Regions from separate parts of the Homo sapiens genome. Here all the other regions are linked to region 1. The links are contacts of gene promoters, found by promoter capture Hi-C in blood cells and fetal thymus (Javierre and others, 2016). All regions are on one chromosome and are shown on one strand. The core of a region is centred on a gene start or on the middle of the fragment in contact, and the rest is flanking DNA. Distances in the headings are between cores, read along the strand shown. Region 1 holds the start of NCOA2 (nuclear receptor coactivator 2). Region 2 holds the start of COPS5 (COP9 signalosome subunit 5). Region 3 holds the start of UBE2W (ubiquitin conjugating enzyme E2 W). Region 4 holds the start of VCPIP1 (valosin containing protein interacting protein 1).

The links. The method cuts DNA at HindIII sites, captures the fragments that hold promoters and counts their contacts. A CHiCAGO score of 5 or more calls a contact.
Region 2: a contact is called between the fragment with the promoter of COPS5 here and the fragment with the promoter of NCOA2 in region 1, in 1 of 17 cell types (activated CD4 T cells). The highest score is 9.1, in activated CD4 T cells.
Region 3: a contact is called between the fragment with the promoter of UBE2W here and the fragment with the promoter of NCOA2 in region 1, in 6 of 17 cell types (non-activated CD4 T cells, naive CD8 T cells, naive CD4 T cells and 3 more). The highest score is 12.8, in non-activated CD4 T cells.
Region 4: a contact is called between the fragment with the promoter of VCPIP1 here and the fragment with the promoter of NCOA2 in region 1, in 5 of 17 cell types (non-activated CD4 T cells, M0 macrophages, fetal thymus and 2 more). The highest score is 8.8, in non-activated CD4 T cells.

The regions. Positions count from the first base shown.
Region 1 is chr8:70,402,450-70,409,198 of GRCh38, reverse strand. It overlaps NCOA2 (nuclear receptor coactivator 2), which reads left to right and starts at 5,391. Exons shown (of 23, transcript NM_006540.4): 1 at 5,391-5,499. RefSeq lists silencers at 4,615-4,774, 5,465-5,774, 5,815-6,104, 6,135-6,749 and an enhancer at 4,875-4,994. The HindIII fragment of the contact is 4,231 bases long and covers 4,099-6,749 here.
Region 2 is chr8:67,057,015-67,063,912 of GRCh38, reverse strand. It overlaps COPS5 (COP9 signalosome subunit 5), which reads left to right and starts at 1,780. Exons shown (of 8, transcript NM_006837.3): 1 at 1,780-2,059; 2 at 4,468-4,702; 3 at 5,702-5,830; 4 at 6,468-6,533. The coding sequence starts at 1,917. RefSeq lists enhancers at 1,574-1,843, 2,024-2,113. The HindIII fragment of the contact is 5,475 bases long and covers 1-3,458 here.
Region 3 is chr8:73,876,031-73,882,926 of GRCh38, reverse strand. UBE2W (ubiquitin conjugating enzyme E2 W) reads left to right here and starts at 4,065. Exons shown (of 6, transcript NM_018299.6): 1 at 4,065-4,119. The coding sequence starts at 4,105. It overlaps LINC01617 (long intergenic non-protein coding RNA 1617), which reads right to left and starts at 3,945. Exons shown (of 3, transcript NR_147034.1): 1 at 2,230-3,945; 2 at 765-900; 3 at 1-597. RefSeq lists silencers at 3,833-4,122, 4,263-4,312, 4,333-4,592 and enhancers at 3,979-4,856, 5,333-5,382. The HindIII fragment of the contact is 3,471 bases long and covers 3,066-6,536 here.
Region 4 is chr8:66,663,918-66,670,733 of GRCh38, reverse strand. It overlaps VCPIP1 (valosin containing protein interacting protein 1), which reads left to right and starts at 3,503. Exons shown (of 3, transcript NM_025054.5): 1 at 3,503-6,485. The coding sequence starts at 3,776. C8orf44-SGK3 (C8orf44-SGK3 readthrough) reads right to left here and starts at 3,138. Exons shown (of 19, transcript NM_001204173.2): 1 at 3,033-3,138. It overlaps C8orf44 (chromosome 8 putative open reading frame 44), which reads right to left and starts at 3,138. Exons shown (of 2, transcript NR_161217.1): 1 at 3,033-3,138. RefSeq lists enhancers at 2,906-3,415, 3,786-4,305, 4,556-4,615. The HindIII fragment of the contact is 1,085 bases long and covers 3,134-4,218 here.

The DNA.
Region 1 (6,749 bases), core at 4,142-6,641:
AATTTTTACTTAAAAAGCTTGCTGGGATTTTGATTGGGATTGCATTGAATCTATAGATCCATTTGCTAAGTGTTGACATGTTAATACTGATGACATCTTAATACTGTTTTTTAAAACAGAAATGGAGTCCTTTTGCCCATTTCTGTTGCCCAGGATGGTCTCAAACTCTTTGCCTCAAGTGATCCTCCCACCTCAGCCTCCCAAAGTGCAGGGATTACAGGCATGAGCCACTATACCTGGTCCCATCTCTTGTTTTAAAAATTTAATGTTTTGGTCTGGCATGATGGCTTATGCCGTAATCCTAACACTCTGGAAGGCTTAGGTGGGCAGATCACTTCAGCCCCAGCAGTTCAAGATCAGCCTGGGTAAGACGGTGAAACCCCATCTCTACAAAAAAAAAAAAATCCAAAAAAAAAAAAAAAAGCTGGGTGTGGTGGCACACACCTGTATTCCTGACTATTAGGGAGGTCAGGGCTGCAGTGAGCTGTAATTGTGCCACTGCACTCTCCAGCCTGAGTGACAGAGTAAGGTCATGTCACACACACACACAAAAATTAACTTTTTAAGAGACACAGTATTGCTATGTTGCCCACGCTGGTCTACAACTCCTAGGCTCAAGTGATCTTCCCGCCTCAGCTTCCCAAGTAGCTGGAACTACAAGCATGTGCCACTGTGCCCAGTCTATTTCTGTTTTTAGGCCATTGTGAATTTCTATTAGCAATATTTTTTTCTCAATGTAGAGATCATGTGACATCTTTCATTAAATTTATTCCTGAATTTTGATTTTTAAAATGCTTTTGTAAATGGCATTTTAAAATTTTCATTTTCCAGTTGTTTCATGCTAACATACAGAAGAAATACAATTGACCTTGTACCTTGTGATCCTACATTCATTTTAGTAGTTCATGGATTCTTTTGAATTTTGTACGTACACTATATCATCATTAGTGAATAAGTTTGGTTTCACCTCCTTCCAATTCATTTTCTTGTCTTATTGCACTGATAAAATTTGCAGAGATGCCAAATAACTTGCCCAAGTTCACCCAGTTAGTAAGAGCCAAGATTGAAACTCATGTCAATCTCACTCAGAATACCCTGGAATGAGTGTGGGTGTATTAATATTTGTTTTTGCTTGAGAAATAAGGGAGGTATGAATAGAGGGGGAGAAATAAGGGAGGTATGAATAGAGGGGGTATATCAAAGAGGTTCTTAATCTAAGATGAAGGATTTGAATTGTATTCCATAGTTAATGAAGGATCATTAAGTGTTTTCAAGTGGGAAAGTAACAAAATAAGACTGAGGGGATCAATCCTGTGACAGTGTACAGTATGACTTGAAGGGAGCCCATTCATTCATTTATTCATTCTTTTCATGATCATTTATTGAGTATGCATTATGTTCTAGGAGACAGAGTCTTGCTCTGTCACCAGGCTGTAGTGCAGTGGTGCGATCTTGGCTCACTGCAACCTCCGCCTCCCGGTTCAAACAATTCTCCTGCCTCAGCCTCCCAAGTAGCTGGGACTACAGGAGCGCGCCACCACACCCAGCTAATTTTTTTTTTTTTTTGTATTTTTAGTACAGACGGGGTTTCACCATGTTGGCCAGGATGGTCTCAATCTCTTAACCTCGTGATCTGCCTGCCTCGGCCTCCCAAAGTGCTGTGATTACAGGCGTGAGCCACTGCGCCCAGCCAATGTGTTTCTCAGAGTAGTAGAAATACAAGTGATGAAGAGTAGAATCCTAACACAATCTTAGATATGCAGCGAAGGCAGTTCTATGACTTTGCATTAATTTACTTGAAGTCTCTGAAGCTCAGCTTTATTGTACATAAAATGAGAATAATATACATACAATGACTACTTCAGTAAGGAAAAAATTTATGTAATATGCTTGACTTATATTAGACATTTGTTTATTGTAGTTATACTATTTAAGGGATTTAGAAGAGAGCAAACAATAAGAATGAAACATTTCATCACAGTCGTTCAATAATCAAATTGACAAACAAATGTTTTAACTGACGCCCCCACCCTATGATTACATTTTAATAGAATGAACTATAGATTTTTGCTTTGGCAATTTAGGAATGCACCAAAACAGAGATAACTGTGCTACATATTAGCTGACATAATAATATTCCCTTACATCTGTATAAAGAGCTTGATAGTTAACAAAGTACATTTATTTACACCATTTTGAGTCTTGCAACAATTACACAGATGAGGAAATTGCGATATTTAGTGACTTGTTTGAGGTCACACAGTAACTTACAGAGACCACTTCACATCATATTTATTTGCTTATATTCTATAGCTCTTTTTTACCATACTGTTACCTCTAATCTCATGATGTATGCTAGTAGTATTAACTCAAAAATAGTATAGAATCTCCCACTTTTATGCAGTTTACTTATGAAAAAAGTGAGTACTTTGAAAACTGTGGAAGAAAAGGCAGACAAAAATAGAAATTCTTGTCTTGTAGCAGTCATATTGTTCTGATTATTCCTAGGTTATATTGTTAAATATATAATTTGTCATTTTCTTTACTTTTCCATGCTGCATTTATGATTCTGCTGACATTTTTGGTGTTTCCTTGCCTCATCCATTCACGGTATGTTATTTCTACTTCCACTAAATTTCAATAATTTCCTTCCCCTTTATGATCTGCACCCACATATTTTTTCCTTGTTGTTCTCTCTTGGTAATATACCTAGTTCCTATATCTTTGCCTTCTTTTTTCTTTCCTTCTTCTTCCTTTCTTAATTTGTGTCATTGAGCCAACTTATTTACCGCCTCCTCTACCTTTTCATTTTACATTATCATAGTGATGATTCACTAAAAATTATGGCTAGTTTTAATAAACAATTGTTCTGAGGTCTCATGGGAATCAAAGTTCTTTCTAAGTATGGAAGATGTTTTTTATAAACATGTTTTATGAGCAAGGGATTGGAAGATGAGGTGGGGAAGAGGACATGAGGATCGGAATAGATACTATTATTTATATTTCACAAATTCAATGAAACAACAAACATCATACATTCCTTGTTAGGTGCTATAGCATGTACAAACAAGAACAAGACTAGGTCTTGGGCTCTGTTGCACTTACAATCTAGTGAAAGAGAAAGACAAACATATAAACAACTCTAGTGCAAGACAGACTACTGTTACAGCAAGAGCCTGAAGTTCAGAGGGCACCCAGAGATTGTACCAGAGCGCGTTTAAGTCACACAATTCAATTCAAGCTCAGGCAATTGAGTAGCACTTGGGCATGGAACTCATCTACTATGCTGTCAGACGTTTTTGTTTATTTCTTGTAAGAAAAAGTCTTCAGCCGTCGTAAGACGTTTTATTGGGTAATACGGGAATGCAATGGGGGGAGTCATTTGTTTGCAGAGGTATCATGGGTAGTTTTAAAAAGTGTGAAATCTACGATTGCAGAGGACTGATAGACTCTGGACTTCTGCCAAAATGGGAGGGATAGCAAGCAAGAAGGAGAATCTTTTTTTTAAATTTTTATTTATTTATTTATTTATTATCACAACTCCTGATAACTCACAGTTGGGGGTGAGGACAGGAAAGCAAATCGGGAGTTCAGAATTGTGACAAACCTCAGGTGACTACTACCCCATTGTAGACAAGCTACAGACTGGTATTAGCAGAAGATAGGCCATAAACAAACTCTCCATTTCCTCTCAACGCTTTGGGAACATAATTCTATTATTCCAGCTAGCTAAAAAAAAAAAAAAAAAAAAAAAAAAAAAACCTTTAAAAATATACATTAATACATAGTCAATGCAAACATTTCAAACATTAGATAGGTGTGCAAAATAAAAAGTGGAAGTGCCTCATCACCCACTTCTTACACTCCCCAGCGCTAACATTTGTTGTTATAGGCTTCCAAGCATTTTCTATCCACAAACAAACACAGACACACACACCCCACACATTTTTTTTATTCTTTTCCCAAATAAAATTGGCGGTACACCCACAAATTTTAGGATGAAGACATGTTTAAAAGCATGGGCTTTGGAGCTCACCAGAACTGGGCTCACATCCTCTCCAACTACTGGCTGTGACCCTGGGCAAATTACTTTAAGCTTCAATTTTTTGTGTGAAGTGAAAAGCGGCAATGACTTCGGAAGGTTTGAGGATTAAGGCCTATAGCATATATACATCACCTAGCACAGTCAGATTCACAGTAAGTGTTCAATAAACACTCTTATTGTCTACCGCAAGTGACCTTTCTCATTATAAGATTAAAATCAGGGAATATGTTCCTCTCATAGTTTGATAACTGCCATTAAACAAAAGTTTTTTTTTTCAACTAATTACCGTATAAGTTGGAAAAAAAACTTGCTTTTCCAAAGCGTAAAACAGATTGGTCTAAGTAACACTTAAATGGGGGTTCTCGCATTTTCAGTGCCAATCTCCTACGTCCCCTCAGTACTTTGTTCACGGATGTCTAGAGAATGGACTTTCCAATACAAACTTATGATTTCATGATGTGCCGAAAATTCTCAACCAGGTTAAGTTTCACACTCTGTGTGCAGCATTTGCTTTATCCCGCAATTGCCGGGTGGTGCCCCTTCCAGCTCCCACAGTCGCGCCTCTCCATCCCCTCTGGAGCTAGGACTGCAATGGGAGAAGCCTCTCCCTGTTGGAGCCGTAGGGGACTTGACGGATGCGGGGCGCCTCCGGGGAGCAGCGGCAGGACCGGGAGTTGGGTAGGGTGAGGTGCGCCCGAGGGGGTGCAGGGTGCTGGCCGAAGGGTCCGGCCGGACGGGCGCGAGGGTCCTCTGCTGGCGACCCTGGAACTCGGCTCTCCCCGATCTTCGTCCTGGGGCACCGTCCCTGCCGTCTGCAGCCCCCAGGCCCCACTGCCTCTAACTCAGCGGCCCAGGCCCGTCCCAGTCGCTAGTTTTCTTTTTGGCATTGCCCTTTGCCCTCCCATGCAGTCCTCTGTTGACTCTCTCTTCAGTTCCAGTCACCTCTAGGTCACCCTCCCTCTACCACAGTCACCCATTTTGTCCCCTGTCCCCTTACTCTTCTTCACCTCTCCCCGGGCCGCCTTCTCAGAGGACTCTGCCGACGGAGATGCTGCGGACCCCGCGGCCAGGGGCTGCTCCCCGGACAACCCTGCGTCCACCTTTGCCCCTTCCTCGGGGGCGCGAGAGGCAAGTTTCCGCCCCGTCCTTTTCCCGGTGACAGGACTTGGCGGCGGCCACTGCCGGGGAGGCAGAGGGAGGGACGGCCTGGCTCCCGAGCCCCCTCCCCTGCTCGCGAGCTCGCGCTGTCTGTCTCTCCGCAAGTGCGGAGACGCGGAGGAGGAGGAGGAGGAGGAGGAGGAGGAGGGAGTTGGGGGAGGATCTCCATTGAAATAAACAACCAGGCAGCAGTTATTAACACGGGAACATGGCGGCCGCAGCCTCGGCTACAGCTTCGGCGGCGAAGGTCAGCGCCGACGGCAGCCGGCACCTGACGGCGTGACCGACCCGAGCCGGTAACCGCGCCTTCCCCCGGGGCCGCGAGGGCGGGCGGGGGGCGGGCGGCAGGCGGGGGGCGCCGCGTCCCCACCCCCGGCCGCGACTGCCCTTCCTGCGCCGAGCTCCGACAGAGCCGTGCGCCTCCGAGAGGCTGTTTTTGTGTGCGGGGACCGCCGCCGGAGTGCGCGGAAAACGGGAGTTGCATCCCGGAGGCGCAGCGACGCTGGGGAGTTGGGGCTTGGGGGTGGGGAGGGCGGGAAGCGACGGGGAGACGCGGAGTCCCCGGGAGAGAAAGGAGGCGCTCCAGCGCCTTGCGAGAGCTCAGGAGACGAGTCCCGGAGCGCGAGGCGGGCGGAGGCTGCAGCCCGCGGCGCGGGCGAGAGGTGAGCGCCGAGGCGCGGCCGGGGGTGCGGGCGCGGCCCCCGCCCCGAGGAGCGAGTGCCCATTGCCCAGCCCGGTGCGGGGTCGGCGGAGACCGAGGCTCTAACCCCTCGGGGGCAGCGCGGCAGAGCCGAGAAGGTGAATCCTGGGAAGGTGCATTCTTTAATGGAAGCGCGGAGCGGCTGCAGCGGAGAGTGGGAGCCGGGCGAGGGGAGGCAGGACTCGGGAAGTGCTGGGGGTGTGTGAAGGTGAAGCGGGGTGTCGGGGCGGCCGGCGAGCTGCAGCGCGGGGCGGGGAAGGGGAGCCGCGGCCCGGCGGGTGGCCCGGGCCCGTGTCAGCCCCGGGGGTGGGGGGCGAGGGGCGCCGAGCACCGCGGGCGGACGGGAAGGAGCTGCGGCGGGCGGGGCGGGCGGCGCGCTGGGGCCGAGCAGGCCGGGCCGTGGTGGGGGCGGGGAGCCGGGGGCCGGGCCCCGGCGGCGCCGAGCCGGGCTCGCCCCTGACTGAACTTTCTGGGTGCGGGCGTGTATGCAGGAGGCGCGCTGGGGCCGGGGCCGGGGGCGGGAGGCGGACCGGGAGGTTCCGGGTTGGCTCGCCAGCGCCCCCTTTTCTCGCCCCCTTCTCTCCGCCCCTGAAGGGACAGGCCCTCGGGGCCCCAGGCGGGAAGCGGGAGGGGCCCTGTGGCCGCCTCGCGACGGTCACGCCCCGGGCACGGGGACCCGGCCCTCTCGGGCCCCTGGGGGGTGCTGGGGGAGGGGGCCGGGGTCGTCGCTGCCGGCTGCGCTCCCCGCCTCCTCCCCTCGGGGGAGTCCCAGAGGCGCCTCTTCCGAGACCGGGGGTGGGTCGGTCCCTGGTTAGATGGCCCCTCCCTCTTCCCCTCCCTCTAGTG
Region 2 (6,898 bases), core at 531-3,030, 3.3 Mb after region 1:
AGAGACCTCTAGTTTCCCAGGAGAGTGGAACTAAGGGTAGGTATTAATGTACTATTTTACCCTAAATTTCTTTGTAAGATGGTTTTAAAGGAAATTTTCTTCAACGGAAAGTCAGTGCCAAAACAGCAAGCTGTGGTGTGGATTCAATAATTCTAATGTTTTTGTCTTAACTGATTATTACAACGCATTGTAACAGTTATAGAAGCACCTACGGAGACTTACAGACATAATGGAAGGAATGGTAATTGGAGCGTCAAGAAAGAGTTCGTGGTCGATCTCACTGGACTGCATTTTTAAAGATTAATAGGAGTTCCCAGGCAGAAAATTTACGAAAGAGCGTTTCAAGCAATGCTGACCACATATGCAAAGCCAAAGTAAAGATATCTGCATTGCTAGAATGAAAAGTTTCAAGGGGGGACTAAAAAGAGATGAAGCTGGAAGAGGTGCATAGGGGCCAGGTTGTTAACAGCTGTGGTGCTATCTTTTCTTTTTTCTTCTTTTTTCTTTCTTTCTTTCTTTTTTTTTTTTTTTTTTTTTTTGAGACTGGCTCTGTCTAACAGGCTGGAGTGGCGCAATCTCGGATCACTGCAACTTCCGCCTCCTGGGTTCAAACGATTCTCCTGCCTCAGCCTCATGAGTAGCCGGGACTACAGGCGCACATCATCACGCCCGGCTAATTTTTTTTTGTATTTTTTTAGTAGAGACGGGGTTTCACCATGTTGGCCAGGCTGGTCTTGAACTCCCGACCTCAAGTGATCAGCCCGCCTCGGCTGCCCAAAGTGCTGGGATTACAGGCGTGAGCCACCGCGCCTGGCCTGTCATGCTATCTTTTCAGGAAATAAAAGAAAAAAAAATCTTGAACACCTATGCTAGGTGCTAGGAGATAAAACAAGGAACGCAGACCTGCTCCCTGTGTCTTGAAACTTAAAATCTTGCACGGATGGAAGAATGAGATGGAGAAAAAAGAAAACCTAAAACACGTGAACTAATAAAAAAATTAAACATTGTATTAACTGTAGGAAGAAAACAAACCAGTTACCCAGATTAATTACGCTTTGGGAACAAATGCGGTTCACAGGAGTGCCAAAGATTTAACTGTAACCTGTTACGAGAACTGAGTACTGGACATTTTCAGATCAGTAATGGCACATTATATATACGTAGATGTTAACTTTTACCAAAGCGCAAAAAAGCAATCAAGGAGTACCCACTGCCTCCTCGCATCGATAGAAAAAGCCCATCTGCAAGTGAAGTGCCAAGCCACCACGAGCCCGTTAGCTTTTACGCATGTACAGTGAGTCATCTTGAAGTAAACGGGAATGCCATGTTTATCTTCCTCTCAACCAGCTTCCAGAACGACTTTTAGCTCAGTTGTACAACAGACAGCCTTACCTTTTAGTCTTTCAACAAACTTATCTCATTTAAGGTACCTATACCCACACAAAAACACTTTCCGCCCTCCACATCCCGCTCTTAAGGCTCCAGCTACCTTTAATATGGCGGAGGCCGAGCCTGCGCATTAGAAGCAGAGAAGGCAAATACCAGTTTCTGGAATAACGTTACATGCCCTTCTTCCGGTGCGGAAGACTATACCACTCCCATACCCTATAACTTTGTTTGTTCTATTTCACACATATAATTTTCCGAGACAAGATGTTCTCATTTAAGCAACAAGAAGATTCGTCTCTCGCTATTACTGTAACTGCTGTTTATATCGTCATGTCCCGGAAAGGTCCCTGTCTTCCCTGAATGGTCTCTACCAACTTCACCTCCGGTTCTAGGTGTCATGGCTGCCCCAAGAGTCTAGGTAAGAGTTTGTTCCCGTGGTGCGGAGGGTCAAGGCCCACACCCGGAAACCTAGCGAGGTAAAGTTGCGTCTTGGTTGTAGAGACGACAACTTCTCCGCTTCCTCGGCGATGGCGGCGTCCGGGAGCGGTATGGCCCAGAAAACCTGGGAACTGGCCAACAACATGCAGGAAGCTCAGAGTATCGATGAAATCTACAAATACGACAAGAAACAGCAGCAAGAAATCCTGGCGGCGAAGCCCTGGACTAAGGAGTGAGGAGGTCCCTGGCGAGACGCAGGGGAGGGAAAGGGTGGCGGAGTTTAAGAGACCCAGAGGGAGAGGGAGGTGAAAGGGGTGAAGAGCTTTCACCGACTGGGAGGGGGACAGAATATGCGTCTTGGATCTGCAAGTAGAGCCTAAGCCCTCCGCTGGGGCTTTCACTCCCCTTTCTGTCGCTTTAATCCATTTGCCCCCGGGTGATGTAAGGGGAGAACAACAAGCGGTGATTTAAGTTGTCACTTCTGAACATCCGTATTGTCATATATGCCACACACCCTACCTTGAGCCCAGTGTCGACATGCACCTTGTTTGGGTCTTCAACTAATCCCAAACTGGGGATTGCAGCTGTTTTCAGAAATCGAGTCAGCAGCCCAAGGTCTCAAAAATAGCTATGAGCTATTTTCTTTTCTTTTTTTTTTAATAGAAATGGGTCCTCGCTGTGTTGCTCAGGCTGATCTCGAGCTTCTGCCTTCAAGCGATCCTCCCGCCTTCGCCTTCCAAAGTGCTGGGATTACAGGCGTGAGGCCTGGGCCTATAATAGTTTTTTGATTGCTGGTAATTATTTCGGAGGCACACGGAGGCTCTACTACCTGGTCTCTAAAATGTTACTCCACCAGTTCCCATAAGCCAGAAATTATAAAAATAGAGCTTAAGACCTTTTGCCCTTCAACAATATCCATTTTTCCCTGGGAGTGGTGACAAGTCGAGGGATCTTTACCCATAATATTTATCTTTTCCTGAGAGCATCTCCTGAGAGATTTCCTGCTATCAGGAAAAGATAATTATTACGGGTTATGTTTGAGAGTAAAAAGAGCACGAAAGCTAATGGTTAGATAGAAAGGAAAGCTGTGGTCAACAAGAGGACATACTTCTACTGCCTCACAGTTTTTTTTACAAGGCTAGCCTTGTCTCTCAGTATTCAGATTCCACAATGGTGAACTGCGGAAGCACCTAGCTAGAGATTTCCACGTCATTTAATTTTCATGACAACCCAGTACAGTATATCCATCCTTTTGTTACAAATTAAAAAACAAGCAAATACGTTATGTAATTTATGATCATACTGACATAAGTGAACTCTCAACTGAGCAATAGTCAGACCTAAGATCAAATCTCACAGCTGTCACTAACTAGTTGATTGACCTTAGGAAATTTACTTATCCATCTTCATTTGTCATAATATGGAAATAAGACCTACTTATTGGTATTGTCATAGAGATTAGGTGAGATAATGTATAAAAAGAGTCGTCTAGAATGTATGTAATAGGAGCACAGTAACTTGTCTTTCTTCTTTTCTCCAGTAAAGGGAGAAGCCAAGATTTCGATTCATGTCTTGACTTCCAACATGAGGTCTACACATTTTTCAGCTTTTGGTTGAAATCTGGCAAAGCTTAGGAATTAAATTTGGATTCTTTCTGTGGGCAGACATCTAAAAAGGCTTTGTAGAGACGTTGACTGACTGCTCTGTAAGGCTGCTTAAGTTGCTTGGTTATCTGCTTGCTTCTGTAACAGGCTGTGCATTTTAGGTTCGTGTACTCTTAAATATTTGGAAACTGTTGGCCTGCCTCACTGTCTAATTGTGGCTCTAATTATATTCATCCTAGCTGTCTTGGGCTGCATTAATGAGACCAAAATGTAATTTTATTCAAGAGTTTAATTCACTGATGACCAACTCTGAAATAGTGATCATAGGAGACTAGGATATTAGGGCTACTTTTTAATTTAAGGCTGATATAACAGGGAAGCCCACCCTTCAACACTCTGTTCTTTGAGAGTAGGGTTAAGAGACAGGTTAATAATGCTGATAACAGCTAGCACTTATTAGGGTTCTAGTATGTGTAAGGCACTAAGCACTTTATATACATTATTTCATTTATTTCATCCTAACAACAATTATGAATATCCCTATTTACAGAAAAGGAAACCTAGGCACAGATATTACAGGGTTGTCCCAATACCACAGCTAGGGAATGGCAATGTCAAGATTCAGACCTTAGCAGATGAATGTCAGAACCCACATTCTTAACCATTAGGCCAGAAGGTTAGGCCTCAGAACAGTTAGGCACAACCATCCAAGCAGTCAGAATCCAAGATTGGGTGATTCCAAATTAATGGAGAAAAAGTCTGTTGAACTGGTCATGTTACTCCCTTATTTGAATAGCATATTAAAAAAGTATTTCAGACTTTTCCCCTCCCCTAAGGGGGATACGTTGCTGCACTATGACATACTTATTGTTTCCAGCCTGCAAAAACTGTCCTTTTTTACTTTTTCTCCCCGTAGTCTACACTCCCTTTCCATCGCTCTAAATTCCTTCAATACTTACTCTTTATCTTCATAAAAACTTTTCTGAAATTTTACTTTATATAAGGAATTTAATTACATTGTGATTTTGTTTTGCAGTCACCATTACTTTAAGTACTGCAAAATCTCAGCATTGGCTCTGCTGAAGATGGTGATGCATGCCAGATCGGGAGGCAACTTGGAAGTGATGGGTCTGATGCTAGGAAAGGTGGATGGTGAAACCATGATCATTATGGACAGTTTTGCTTTGCCTGTGGAGGGCACTGAAACCCGAGTAAATGCTCAGGCTGCTGCATATGAATACATGGCTGCATACATAGAAAATGCAAAACAGGTAAAAATGTTGTTTCTTATAGTTTAGTAATTGCAAGTTAGAGTCTCAAGGTGACTTTTGAGTTTCTAAACTTAAAATTATCCCCTTTACATGAAATTTTATATTTAAATTTTAATGATTTATATGTAAAATGTACGAGATTAAAAGCCTGATAAGACTTATAGCATGGTTTTTTTTGTTTTTTGTTGTTGTTGTTTTTTTTTTTTCGAGACAGGGACTCACTCTGTTGCCCAGGCTGGAGTGCAGTGGCGTGATCTCAGCTCACTGCAACCTCCATCTCCTGGGCTGAAGCAATTCTCCCTCCTCAGCCTCCTGAGTAGCTGGGACTACAGGCGTGCACCAGTAGGCCTGGATAATTTTTCTATTTTTAGTAGAGACGGGTTTTCTCTGTGTTGGCCTGGCTGGTCCCAAACTCCTGTCCTCAGGTGATCCACCACCTCAGCCTCCCAAAGTGCTGGGATTACAGGCATGAGCCACTGCACCCGGTCTATGGCATGGATTTTATTTTTTTTTTAAATAAACTCTCACACTTATTATCAGATACGTGTTTAAAATAAAAAATTTGGAAACAACCTAACTCAGTTCCTGAGTATAAAACTGGCTAAATAAATTATGGTATATCCATCAGTGGACTGCCAGGCAGCCTTTAAAAGAAAAAAAAATAAAAAGATAACCATCATATATATTGATGATTTATATGAAGCAAACTCCAAAGCAGTTTATTGAGTGAAAAAACAAAGTGTAAAACATTATTATGTTATGTGGTATGCTATTGTGTGTGTTTTTATCAATCTATGTATGTGCAAAGAATATGTATTCTGTATACAAAGAATATCTCTGTAAGGGTAAGCAATTGCCCATAGATTTCGCATCTGGGCTGAGAAAAGTGGGTAATTGAGGAGAAGGAGATGGGAAGGAGACTGGTTACCCTTATTGTACTGGTACCTTGTAAATTAATTAAAGAGTAATCTTAAACTTTTTTGCCCCTTCATTTGTTAGGTTGGCCGCCTTGAAAATGCAATCGGGTGGTATCATAGCCACCCTGGCTATGGCTGCTGGCTTTCTGGGATTGATGTTAGTACTCAGATGCTCAATCAGCAGTTCCAGGAACCATTTGTAGCAGTGGTGGTAAGAATTTTAAAACCAGTTTAATTAAGTTCTTTATGAAGATTTGCTGAAGCAAGTATACTGAGAAATAAGAATAGTGTAGTAAAGAGAAATTGCTCTGGTATCAGTCTGCCTAGGTTTCAATGTGAATTCCATCTCTTAGAAGCTGGGACTTTGAGCAAATTATTTAACCACTGTGTATCTTGCTTCTCCCCTCTGTAAATTGTGGGTAGTCATAGCATCTATGTCTCAGTGCCAGCTCATCATAGGCATTCAATCAGTGTTGACTGAACTGAGTTAAGCAGGAATTGCTAGAGCAGCTCTTATTATGTTCAGGGTGTTTTAAGTGCAATCCAGGTTTTATGAGGAAGGTAGGAGTTATTCACCTCTTAAAAGGACAAAAGAAAACTTTTTAAAAATAGATGAGCAAACCTTCAAATAATATTCTTAAATGTTATAATAATTTGAATCTCTAAGTTAGCTGTGAGACACTTATATTACCCTCTTACTGAACTTTTATGGTTTTTTGGTTTATTCTTATTTGGTTATTATGTATGTATATAGTGTTATATGTATGTATACATTTCTAGGTTTATAATGTTTAAATAAAAGGCATACAGTTTTATATCAGCAGATATTAAATATATCTTTCTTATAGATTGATCCAACAAGAACAATATCCGCAGGGAAAGTGAATCTTGGCGCCTTTAGGACATACCCAAAGGTAACTTTTTTTTTTTTTAAGAGTTAGAGTCTCACTGTGTTACCTAGGCTGGAGTACAGTGGCTATTCACAGGCATGATCATAGTGTACTACAGCCTTCATCGCCTAGGCTCAAGCCAACTCAGCCTCCCAAGTAGCTGGGACGGTAGGAATGCTTAGTAATTTTTAAAATTATAAGTCCTTACATTTTTTAAATTCCAAATATTTGACTTATTATTAAAGACATTAGCAATATCTCTTGTTATTAAAACAATTCAATAATATTTACAAAATAGTAAACTACCACAAGCTGTCCCTAGCAAAGGGTAATACATTTATGTTATATATTGTTAATTTTACTGGAAAAGCAGTCTTTATTTATTAATA
Region 3 (6,896 bases), core at 2,816-5,315, 3.5 Mb before region 1:
GAAATCCCATCTATATTTCGACTGGATTGCATCAGCATTTTAAAATTGTTAATCAAAGCCCCCTCTACTTCCCAGTATTTCTACATAAATTGCAATAAAACCAAGTTCATTCCTTAATATATTTACAAAAGTGATTTTTAAACTCAAAATGGTATGTAATTCCCATTTCATTTTATCTTAGACTTTTTAACATGGTATTTTAGACAAATCATGCACAATTTTGATTCTCTTTAATAGATGCATGGAATTTGAAATTTGGAAGAAACCATAAAGATTATGCAGTCTGACTTGCGCATTTTATTGATAAGGAAAGAAACCCAGAAAGATTAGAAGCCTTACCTAAGCTTGTTAATCACAGAGCTAAGATAAGAATACAAGCCTTGGATTCTTACTTTGGTACCTTTTCCAAAATCCAGTAACAAACTGTTGGTGACTGAACTGTCTCCATTTCTCTGCTGAGATCAGCCCCTAGGAGACTAAGAACAAACTACTGGGTGGAGGCATAGACTCAAGCAAGGACTCATCAATTCTGCCTTTTCATGCTTCAACAAACAAATGTTCACAGGACTGCTTCTGACTTCCCAGTTTAATAAATCACTAGAACAAAAGCATTCATAAATCACATTACATTATCCATTATAGCACTTACCCAGTAGTCCCTTTGTGGGTCCTTTAATGTTACTATTTAGTTTCCCATATTTCCTTTTCTTTACTAGCAGAAAGTCCAGATGCTAATTTAGACCTGTCTCAGGCTCTCTCTTTACCTTGGAAGGGAAGATCTCAGGCACATACACAGCTTGGGTATGTCCAGATTTTTTTTTTCTTCCAGGGAAGTGGAGATGCAGGTAGTTTGTGAGATGAGGGAGAATCTCCTCGTAAGCTGATGGACATTTCTAATAGCTGTGGAAATGAAAAAGTGAACATCATTATCAAATCTAACAAAAATAATAATTCCTTAATATCCTCTAATATCTACTCTATATTTAATTTTCTCCAGGTGTCTCAAAAATATCTCTTTTACAGTTTGTTTGAATCTAGATCCAAACAATGTTAACATATGCATTTGTTCAATGTACTCTTACGTGGCCAAGCATGGCCTGTAATCCCTGTAATGCCAGCACTTTGGAAGGCCAAGGCAGGTGGATCACTTGAGGCCAGGAGTTCGAGACCAGCCTGGGCAACATGATGAAACCCCGTCTCTACTAAAAATACAAAAAATTAGCCAGGTGTGGTGGCACATGCCTGTAGTCCCAGCTACTAGGGAGGCTGAGGCAGGAGAATCACCTGAGCCCGGCAGGCTGCAGTTGCAGTGGGCCAAGATCGCGCCACCGCACTCTAGCCTGGGTGACAGACTGAGACTCCGTCTCAAAAAAAATATATATATATATATAAATATATATATAAATATATAATATATATATTTTATATTATATATAAATATATATATTTATAATATATATATAAATATATATAAAACTCATATGATGCTATTAAGAAGATCCAGTAAGGATATGGGAAACTTTAACTTCATTATTGCCGAACTATTTTCCAAAGTGATTGCACTAGTGTCACTCCTATAGAGTTTATGAGAGCTCCACTTCCTCTCTCACTTTTGGTATTGTCAGATATTTTTTTTGAGACAACAGGGTCTTGCTCTGTCACCTAGACTGGAGTGCACTGGCATTATCCTGTCAGACATTTTAACTTTTGCCTATCTGATAGTAATGATAGTAAGCCTCGCTCTGTAGAAATATGAGCCTAGTCTTCAAACATGGCATAATAGTGTTTTAGATATTAACATTACATGCTCACTGGAGATAATTATATACCCCCCATACCATCTGTAAGTCACTGTTTTGGCTCCTATGTCAGGATCTTTTTATTAAATATTAACAAAAGAATGGCCGGGCGCAGTGGCTCACACCTGTAATCCCAGCACTTTGGGAGGCTGAGGCGGGTGGATCACGAGGTCAGGACTTCGAGACCAGCCTGGCCAACATGGTGAAACCCCCATCTCTACAAAATATACAAAAAAATTACAAAAAATTAGCAGAGCGTGGCGGTGTGCGCCTGTAATCCCACCTACTCGAATCACTTGAACCTGGGAGGCAGAAGTTGCAGTGAGCCAAGATCGCGCCATTGCACTCCAGCCTGGGTGAGACTGAGACTCCGTCTCAAAGAAAAAGAAAAAAAAAAGAAGACAGGTTATTATGTGCTATTTAGTATTACCTAGAAAGGATATGACTGGCATTGACTTTTCCCTCCTGAGAAGATACTTCTAACATATATGAAACCCAAGGGACCAGATATTGGATCCACTGTGATGAGTGTCAGAATTCTTGTAACCTCTTTTTTCCTTATTAGTATCTGTCATGCCAGGTTGTTGGCTCTGATGATGTCATAATGCTTTGTTTGTAGGGTCATCCGATGCTACTGTTTCCACAGGAACAATCAGCTTTTAGGCAAAGTGAACCTTGGACGGTAAAAGCTGATCTTCTGAGGTCATAGGAATAAATATATCTCAAAGAAAATACACTGGAAACTTCTTCTTTAAGTTTTCCTCTTTCATTGGAATATGTGGGTTTCCTCACTGTTGTAATGTTGATGACACAACAAGGCTAACACCGGATATGCTTCTGGCTGATTCCGGTTTACCAAGAGCATCCAAACATCCCTCAAGGACACAGTCATTTTGCACAACAAAGGGAAACTCCGCTCATTTCTGGCATTAAGGTGGACATCTGAGAAAGGGGAGGGTATACCACCATAACTTCTCTAGTGATGAATAGTGTTTAATATTATACCATAGACTAACTGGCGTATTTTAAAGATCTTTTTCCTTTTTGAACACATTTCAGATTAGAGAAGTTCCAGAGAACGTAATCTATTTTAAGAGTGTGAAAGAGTGATATTCCACATTGCTTTTATATCTTAAAGAAATTTCTAAAAAGAAAGCCGAGTCAATAAAATGACAGATTTTAAGCCTTCATTCTGGTAACATAAAAGCCTTCTACTCATTGTGTCTGCCACCTTAATTTTTAAAGATAGAGCATGAGGTGTAAGCTTTTGGCTTCCATTTTCCTCTTATAAACCAATGACATCTTCAGTTCCAGAATAGCTTTTTAAAAACGTGACTTCTGATAAATGTTGGCAGAACTGGTGCATTCCTAAAATAAATTATGTATGCTCAGCTTTCCCTACCCAAGTTCATCCCTAAATGACCACAAAACTGCCCACCACGAACTATGCTTAAGAGAAGTCTGGACATAATGGTATAAGTGTATATAACACGACATTGGTATATTTAAAAAAAAATTCATGCCTAGGGTCAATTCTGATAATCAAATTTAGACTGCTGCAACAACCGTAACTATTGTTGATATATGCGCAGTTTAAAAGTGAAGGGCGGGGGTAAGGGGCAGAAACTGCACACAACAAACTTCCAAATTTTGTCTCCCTTTTCAGGCAAGTTTCAGCTCCACAAATCTAAATACCCTCGCCTTTAAAATATCAGTGTCGTTCTGCTCTTAAATCCTCATCCCGTTGTACAAGGAAACCTATGTCTCTCTTCCCCAAATTAAGAATACGAGAAGCCTTCCAGGTCTGCAAATACCAGAAAGCAGCTGCGCATGAAGTTTTATGGGGCCCCAAGGCTCTGAGAGTGGGCTTGGAGGTATGGAAAACACATCCCAAGGGAAAAATCTGTGAACCGCACAACTGTGGTTGGAAACGAAATAGGAAAAAAACTGCGCGGAACCGGACGTCATCAGCATTTCGCGGTACACACGAAGAAAACAACCGTAGTCGGGTCAAAACTGGAGCCGTGTCTCCTCAGTAACGAGAGTAAATGGGGGCCCGACGCGTGAGCGGCCAGCCGGACTGAGACAGAAAGTACTCAGAGCGCCATTTACCGCGCCCTCGCCCCGCCCCGTAGCCCCTCCTCCCGTCCGCCCTGCGCGCCAGCCAATCCCCTCGCTCCATCCCCTTCCCATCGCAGACCCCGCCCCCGCGCCCGGGATGTTGAGCCCCCGCGGCGTGACGCGAGCACGGCAGCTCCTCCCCCTGCGTCTCTGGCCTCGCCGGTCTTGGGGGGATGGTTCCATCATGGCGTCAATGCAGGTGAGAGGAGTTTGCTGCATCTGGGCGGGCCAGGGAGCCGCCGAGAGAGTGCCAGCGTTCGGGCGGGGGTGGCGTCCGCGATTCGGGGACACCCGGGCGGGTTCGGGATCGGTCCGGGTGGCCTGTTTTCCCTCAGCTCAGGGCGTCGGGGGAGGGGTAAGAGGCGGCGAGAGGCGTTGTGGGGGGTGCGGTATCCGTCGGTCGAAGCGGACACCAGCCGGCCGGGAAGTTGGGTGATAAAGGAGGGTTGGGGAAGAAAGGGCAAAGTCTGGCGTTGGCGGTCTCAGAATCGGCTCCCCGCACACACACACGGGCGCTGCCAGTCTGCTGCCCGCCAGCCCCAGGGTTGCCTTTACCCCCGCTGTCCCTGGCCCGACGGAAACAGCTGCGCCCGCGGTTGTTGCCGGGGCAGGGGCGGCGGGGGGCTGAGTGTGCGGGAGCCGAGAATGCGTCTCCGGAGAAGGCGGCTGGCTGCGGACGGCGCTTAGCGGCCTCTGCTCCGGCCTCCCACGCCGGGCCCCCCAGACTGCTCGGCCCCGTCCCTCTCTTCTTCCCTTTGACTCTTAATCCTGTGCCCGTGGGTATCTTCTATTTCCATCAGCCTCGGTATTCTCGCGGACATTCCTCCAGCAGTCCACTGTCTCCTTCCTCTCGAAGCTGCCCCGTGTCCACCGCCTGATGGGCGATCTCCCGAGAGCCGAGTCCTCAGCCCCCTTAAACCTCTCGGGATAGCTTGCCTTCTATTTTGTTTCCCACTGCAAGGCCCCACCCTTGCGGTCGCGATAAGGCTATACATCTCTTTGCCCTTATTCCCAGACCTTTAGTGGAACCTTAGTTTGGTAGGAGGCGTTTGTTAACCTGTGCCATATCCCCCCGACTTAGCAAGGCGTGGTTTTCTGGCTTTCCAACTTAATTTACTCCTTTTTCCCGAATCTAGGGAGTTGTGGGTTTTTTTGTTTTTTGTTTCCAGGCAAAGATGGCAACCACAATTGTAGTTGTGCAGGGATTGAGTGCGTTATCTGTAGCCTGCATTTAATTCACAGGTGAAGACTAGCGGTATCAAAGGCATTGGAAGAGAAAGTAGAACGCTCAATAGGAGTGTCAGCTGAGTACCCTTTAGCGTTTTCATAATATCCCCTTGGGTAAAGAGACCACATTTTCTTAGAAGTGTTTTTTGCTTTTGTTTCTGGAAGAAGCAAGTCTCTGTTCCTCCTCCATTTTTTTTTCTTTACTCTGCTAAAAGTGTTTTTCTTCCCTTTTCTGCATCTTCTTCCTCTTTTGTACAAATATAGCTTTGCTTCACATTTACTCCTGTGCTTTTATGTTATTCCCCTTTCAACCTGTTTTCCTTACAATATTCTCTTTACCTTGCTTCTCCCTCTGGACTTGCCTGCAGAACAGAAAAGTTTTATGTAACATTTCTAGTTGAAGAGATATCACGAATGGTGCAGGGAAAAAACAGGAACAATTTCAGGAAACATTATACTTTACACTAGTCTCCCCAGAGACGTTGGAGAAGTTTCGTCATTTGAGGCCAAAAAAGGAACAGTGGAATGCTAGTTGAACAGTAGATGCAATAGGCTACATTACCACTTAAAGATTTTTATCTGTGTTAAGATTAAAACATTTTTTATGACAAGTTTAAGATTATTATCTGTATTAAGATTAAAACATTATTTGAGGCTAAACATTAAGATTAAAATCCACAACACTTGTATTTGACAAGAGAACGTAGTGTGTCATCTCGTTAGATTTAGTATCTGGAAAAGGCAGATTTGTTTGTAAGAGAGAGGTTGGTAATCTTGAACTTGAACTTTACATGGTGTCTTTTTTCTTTTTTGAGATGGAGTTTCGCTCTTGTTGCCCAGGCTGGAGTGCAATGGGGCGATCTTGGCTCACCGCAGCCTCCACCTCCCGAGTTCAAGCGATTCTCCCACCTCAGCCTCCTGAGTAGCTGGGATTACAGGCATGAACCACCACGCCCAGCTAATTTTGTATTTCAGTAGAGACGGGGTTTCTTCATGTTGGTCAGGCTGGTCTTGAACTCCCGAACTCAGGTGATCCGCCTGCCTTGGCCTCCCAAAGTGCTGGGATTACAGGTGTGAGCCACCGTGCCTGGCCTACATGATGTCTTAAGAATTGGAAACAAATACTTGATTGACAGTGCAATAGTGCATTTTTCTGTGCCCTAAGTATTACTATCTCAGACTCTTACCACCCTTTTAAGTTTTTCCTTCACCTTGTTCCATCGAAATCTTATCACTCTCTATTCTTCTGTGTTTTCTGGTTAGAGGAATGGAAAACGGATGCTTCCTATATTTATTGAAAAGTCTTTCCCTTTTTATTTGTATTTTAAAATATCTAGTGCAGATTTGCTGGTAGTATCTTTAAGAATATTTTAATATATATGTCAAGCTTTTTGAAAGACAACCCTACTTTCTGTGTGGTTATTCTGTATCTTTGTTATACAGAATTTATATCCTGACTATCTTAATGGCAACATTTGGCTCTTTTAAGACAACTAGATTATACATAAATCTTCAATAAAATTATCAACTTTGTTTATTCACTGAGCCAGTTATCTTTTGGGGGACCTCTATGTGTCAGACACTTATCTAGTTGCTGTGGTTATAGCAATGAACAAAAGCAGACAAGATTTCTGCCCTCATGGATTTAATAATAAATAGTCTCATAAGAAGAGACAGATAAGAACAGCATATTTAAGTTAATTGTGTTTTGTTCTTGTTTTTTGTGTTGAGATGGAGTCTCGCTGTGTT
Region 4 (6,816 bases), core at 2,254-4,753, 3.7 Mb after region 1:
TATATATATAAAATATAAAAGATCAAGAACAATGATGGTTGTTCTGTTGGTAAAAGTGGATGACTTCTGCATTTACATTTACCAAGTTTGTTAAAAGCAATATAGGGAGTTTACAAGTGCCATACTAGAAACTATGAAAAAGATGAATTTCTATTTTAACTGAATTTTGGCAATTTAGGTATTAGTGATGCTGGGGTGATGGTGGTAGAAGAGACGTGTATCAGCACAGCTAATGTCAGAGGCCCAGCTTATTCTTTTCATCTGGACTACTAAAAACAAGAACTATTATCTACCCCACAAAAATCCTGTGAAAGTTAATTAGGTAGTTAAGTTAATCTTCATTAGGCAAGATCATGGAATTTGGGAGGAAAAGAGGAAGGAAGCCTGCAGATCTTGCATAAGCAGGAGAGGCTTTCTACACTCCTCCGGTCTTATAAGAAACAGTATGTCCTATTTTTGACCTAACAATTTTTTTTCTTTGTAGGTATCCATGCCTTCTAAGTGCTAGTAATAAAGAATTAATTCACATATTAAACTTGACATGGTTAATTTCATTGCCCCTTTATGTTAGCTTTCTTTCTGAACTTTGAGTGCATCTACAAACTTATTAAATGATCTAGACAAGCCAGAAAAAGGCTTCTCATTTCTTCAGTGGGGTGGGAAGTGATTATTTTGTCATAGTATGGTTCAGAATGACATATTCAAATACAATTTTAAAAATCTACTTCACTATGTATATGTATCATCAATAAGAAAAATTTGGCCTGGTGTTGTTAAGATATAAAAGTACCTGACAGTGTTAGAATTGCAGACTGTTGTCATCTCATGTGCTACAAAGCTTTAATTCAATTATTTGGATTCTGTATGAGAAAAACTTTCACTGCAGGTGTAACATTTTCGTCACAGCATAAAATAATCTCCACTTAAAGGAGATACCCAATTTCTCTACTTATAAAGCATTCAACTGTTAATAAAAAATCAGTGCCAAAACCAATCTGTGTAGTTACCACCAAACTTGTTAGAATAAACAACTTTTCTTGCATGAATTCTCTGAGAAAAACTTTATTGAAAAATACCCCCTCCGGCCGGGCACGGTAGCTTGCGCCTGTAATCCCAGCACTTTGGGAGGCCGAGGCGGGCGGATCACCTGAGGTCAGGAGTTCAAGACCTGCCTGACCAACATGGAGAAACCCCGTCTCTACTAAAAATACAAAATTAGCTGGGCGTGGTGGCTCATGCCTGTAATCCCAGCTACTCGGCAGGCTGAGGCAAGAGAATGGTTTGAACCTGGGAGGCGGAGGTTGGGGTGAGCCAAGATGACGCCATTGCACTCCAGCCTGGGCAACAAGAGTGAAACTCTGTCTCAAAAAAAAAAAAAAAAAAAGAAAGAAAAATATCCCAAGATAGGAAAAATCACTTCTCTTGTAATTAAGGTCCATTATGGAGGATTTCTCTTTCAAATATTTATTTTCAAGAAAATTGTAGCAATTAGGTGCACATCAAAACTAATACCCTTTATGGGCCTCTATTTTGCAGATGGTTCATTTCAAAGCATCAAGTTCTACATACATACATACACACACACACACACACACACACACACACACACACACAACCTAATCAGGCGGTTTCCTGGGCAGCTACAGAAGACTCAAATGATCTCATGGACTTCACTAATGTTTCTAGTTGGTGCCAAATGTTTCAGAAATTTTGAGGTAGTCCACTTACCTAAGGTGATACTAAACTTCCAGAAAGCAAGAATTTCCGTAATAAGTGAAAGAGGATGAATGTACAAAAATAATACTAGCTTTCAATTAACATATGAATATTGTTCTGTATGAAGAGGCAGTTTCCTACCCAAGTGAAAAAAGAATAAAGCTGTTGCCTCCTTAACATTAAACATCCCTTCATCACTAAGAGGAGACTCTAAGGCCTAGCAAAAGATTTGAGCCTAACATTTTGGGTTTTTTTTTTTTTTTTGAGACGGAGTCTTGCTCTGTCGCCCAGGCTGGAGTGCAGTGGCGTGATCTCGGCTCACTGCAAGCTCCGCCTCCCGGGTTCACGCCATTCTCCTGCCTCGGCCTCCCAAGTAGCTGGGACTACAGGCGCCCGCCACTACGCCCGGCTAATTTTTTTGTATTTTTAGTAGAGACGGGGTTTCACCATGTTAGCCAGGATGGTCTCGATCTCCTGACTTCGTGATGCATCCGCCTCAGCGTCCCAAAGTGCTGGGACTACAGGCGTGAGCCACCGCGCCCGGCCGGGATTTTTTGGTAAGCAGCAGCGTAAAAATCACTCTCAAGGTTTGAGATTGGGATCCAGCATAACTGGTGACTTGACCTTGGGCAAGTCACTTAATTCCTTTTAGTCTCAGTTTCCCTGATTGTAAATGAAGTCAACACCACCTGGTAAAGGTATTACAGGACTGGTGTGAGGATGAGATGATACATGTGAACATATTATTAAATATGTAAACTATAAGGCAATAGTAAGCAAATGCTAGTTACTATTCTATGTAATACAGGCCTAACCTTTCCTGCCTATGTCCTGATCTGTAAAAAGAAGACAGGTTGAGATCTGAATGTCTATCCACTCACTTATCAGCTGCGTGAACTTTAGCAAGTCATTTCCTTTCTGGGCCTGTTTCCTAAGAAGGTTATTTTTTAAGATCAAATGATATCGTGTTATGCAAATGCTGTCCAGACACATATTAAGAACTTAACACATGATGGCTCTTATTATTCTCTGGGGAGTAGGGTGGTAAAGAGCAAATGAAATTAAACCTAGTTAAGAGAATTTGTATATGCACACAAAACTCTACAGACATCCAAGGTACCGTTATTTGCACTGTAAACTGCCAAAACATGCAGGAAACGAGAAATCAAATGGCGCCTCAGTGATTCGCACTAGAGAGGGGGAGAAGGCAGAGCTTCCGAGAATCAACTGTTTTCCCCCTTATGGCCTCCAGCCTAGATTAGACCATTTATTCAACTTCCCAGCCCCCAATATCCCTGGACATTTATTTACTGTACCTTTTTCACTGAGAGCCTTTCCACTCCCCTCCCCTTCTAGTAGTCGTGAACTTCAGACCCTCGCTTCGACTCCCACTGCCATAACTGTTTTTAACCAAGCTTCCCTGAATCCTCCCCTCCGCCTAAGGAGGAAGTGCAGCTAGACGCACCGCACGGCATCCTAGGAAATGTGGTCTCTCAGACTCTTTGCCTTGGGCTGCAGAGTGGGGAAGACGACGAAGGAGAGCCCAGTAAAACTACAACTACCGGCAGGCAACGCGAGTCACCATCTTTCTTTCGCCCCTTTTCCTGTTGCCGTCCTCTTCCTCCTCTCCTCTAGCGCTGAACCGCTTGGCCTCACGGTACTTGTAGTTCCTTCTGGACTCAAGATCCTAGGGCTTGATGGCCAGCACAGAGGCTGGAAGACTCTAATTCCCAGAGGGCAGAGCGGAAGCTGCGCCTGCGCACACTCAATGAGGGCGTGTATGTCTGTGTCTGAGGGAGAGAGAGCGAGAGTGAGTGAGTGTGAGTGCGGGGTGGGGTGGTGGCCGTTACGTTCGGGGCAACGGCTACGGCAGTGGAGAAGTAAGAAGAGAAACAACGTCCGGCGCTTCCGCCTTCGCTTAGGAGGAGGAAGAGCTGGTAGGGAAAGGAAAGTGCTTCGCCCTGGGCCTGGACTGGACCGAGTCGGGTTGGTGGGGGTCTGGGCTATGAGCTTTTGAGGGTCGCCTGGGACGCGGAGCGAGACACGAGAGCCAGGAGCTATGTCTCAGCCGCCGCCGCCGCCGCCTCCGTTGCCGCCGCCACCTCCTCCCCCTGAGGCTCCACAGACTCCGTCGTCCTTGGCGTCGGCGGCTGCTTCGGGGGGGCTTTTGAAGCGGAGAGACCGGAGAATCCTTTCCGGGAGCTGCCCGGATCCGAAGTGTCAGGCGCGTCTATTTTTCCCGGCCTCCGGTTCTGTCAGCATCGAGTGTACCGAGTGCGGCCAGCGGCACGAGCAGCAACAGCTGCTGGGGGTTGAGGAGGTGACCGACCCGGACGTAGTGCTACACAACCTGCTGCGGAACGCGCTGCTCGGGGTTACGGGGGCACCCAAGAAGAACACGGAACTGGTAAAGGTGATGGGCCTTTCCAACTATCACTGCAAATTGTTGTCGCCCATATTAGCTCGCTATGGAATGGACAAACAGACAGGCCGGGCCAAGCTTCTCCGGGACATGAACCAGGGCGAACTGTTCGATTGCGCCTTACTGGGTGACCGCGCCTTCCTCATAGAACCAGAGCATGTTAACACTGTGGGCTATGGCAAGGACCGCTCCGGAAGCCTCCTGTATTTGCATGACACTCTGGAGGACATTAAGCGGGCCAATAAAAGCCAGGAATGTCTCATTCCAGTGCATGTGGACGGGGATGGACACTGCTTGGTGCATGCTGTGTCTCGGGCTCTAGTAGGCCGAGAGCTCTTCTGGCATGCCTTAAGAGAGAATCTTAAACAGCACTTTCAGCAGCACCTGGCCCGATATCAAGCTCTGTTCCATGACTTCATTGATGCTGCTGAGTGGGAGGACATTATCAATGAGTGTGACCCTCTGTTTGTACCACCTGAGGGTGTTCCCTTGGGCCTGAGGAATATCCACATATTTGGTCTTGCCAATGTGCTACATCGTCCTATTATTCTGTTAGATTCCCTCAGTGGCATGAGAAGCTCTGGTGATTATTCAGCCACCTTTCTACCTGGGCTCATCCCTGCAGAGAAGTGCACTGGGAAAGATGGTCATTTGAACAAACCAATCTGTATTGCATGGAGCAGCTCCGGTAGAAACCATTATATCCCCTTGGTAGGCATAAAAGGGGCTGCTTTGCCCAAACTGCCTATGAATTTGCTTCCTAAAGCATGGGGTGTGCCTCAGGACCTTATTAAAAAGTACATAAAACTTGAAGAGGATGGTGGTTGTGTTATTGGAGGTGACAGAAGTTTGCAAGATAAATACTTACTTAGGCTTGTTGCTGCTATGGAAGAAGTCTTTATGGACAAACATGGTATCCATCCTAGTTTGGTTGCTGATGTCCATCAGTATTTCTACAGAAGGACTGGAGTGATAGGAGTTCAGCCTGAGGAAGTCACAGCAGCTGCTAAAAAAGCAGTAATGGATAATCGCCTTCACAAATGTTTGCTCTGTGGTGCCCTTTCTGAACTTCATGTTCCTCCAGAGTGGTTGGCTCCTGGAGGGAAATTGTATAACCTGGCAAAAAGTACTCATGGACAGCTGAGGACTGACAAAAATTACAGCTTTCCCTTGAACAATTTGGTTTGCTCATATGATTCAGTGAAAGATGTTCTGGTACCAGACTATGGAATGAGTAACCTAACAGCTTGTAATTGGTGCCATGGCACATCTGTGCGAAAGGTCAGAGGAGATGGGTCTATTGTGTATTTGGATGGAGACAGAACTAATTCTAGGTCCACTGGTGGCAAATGTGGTTGTGGATTCAAACACTTTTGGGATGGTAAGGAGTATGACAATCTACCAGAAGCTTTCCCTATTACTTTAGAATGGGGTGGAAGAGTGGTCAGAGAAACAGTATATTGGTTCCAGTATGAAAGTGATTCATCTTTGAATAGTAATGTTTACGATGTTGCAATGAAACTTGTTACCAAGCACTTTCCAGGTGAATTTGGGAGTGAAATCCTAGTTCAGAAAGTTGTCCACACTATATTGCATCAGACTGCCAAAAAGAATCCCGATGATTATACTCCTGTAAATATAGATGGTGCTCACGCCCAAAGAGTTGGAGATGTTCAAGGACAAGAATCAGAGTCTCAGCTCCCAACTAAAATTATTCTTACTGGACAGAAAACAAAAACTTTGCACAAGGAGGAGTTAAACATGAGTAAAACTGAAAGAACTATTCAACAGAATATTACGGAACAGGCTTCTGTAATGCAGAAACGGAAAACAGAGAAGTTAAAACAAGAACAAAAAGGGCAACCCAGGACTGTTTCTCCCAGTACCATTCGTGATGGTCCATCCTCTGCACCTGCTACACCTACCAAGGCTCCCTATTCACCGACAACTTCTAAGGAGAAGAAGATCCGAATCACAACTAATGATGGACGACAGTCCATGGTTACCCTTAAGTCTTCAACAACCTTTTTTGAACTTCAGGAAAGTATAGCCAGAGAATTCAACATTCCTCCATATTTACAGTGTATTCGATACGGGTTTCCTCCTAAAGAGTTAATGCCACCACAGGCAGGAATGGAAAAGGAACCAGTTCCTTTACAGCATGGCGACAGAATTACAATAGAAATTCTAAAAAGTAAAGCTGAAGGTGGTCAGTCTGCTGCAGCACACTCAGCCCACACTGTGAAACAAGAAGATATTGCTGTTACTGGTAAACTGTCATCTAAGGAACTTCAGGAGCAAGCTGAAAAAGAAATGTACTCCTTGTGTCTTTTAGCAACATTAATGGGTAAGATGAATTTAATTCTGATGGTATATCTTAATTGTAAATATAATACACTGAGTTTTCCTGTTATCTTTGGGGGAAAAGAAATCTGTAGCCATTGTAAGTTTTTAATTATATATTTCAGGAGAGAATTATTTTTAGTATTTTGAACAGTTGATAGATGTTAATAGGATTATTGAGTAACTATTAGGAAAATAGAAAGTTAAGGTAGTCCCTCAATAATAGTCAACAGATTATTTAAATATATCTTATTCTTGCAATTGCTTTTTAAAAAACAGACTTGTATTTATTTAAAGCGTTTTAAATTTTTTGGTAGGCTCTATTGATCCTGCCT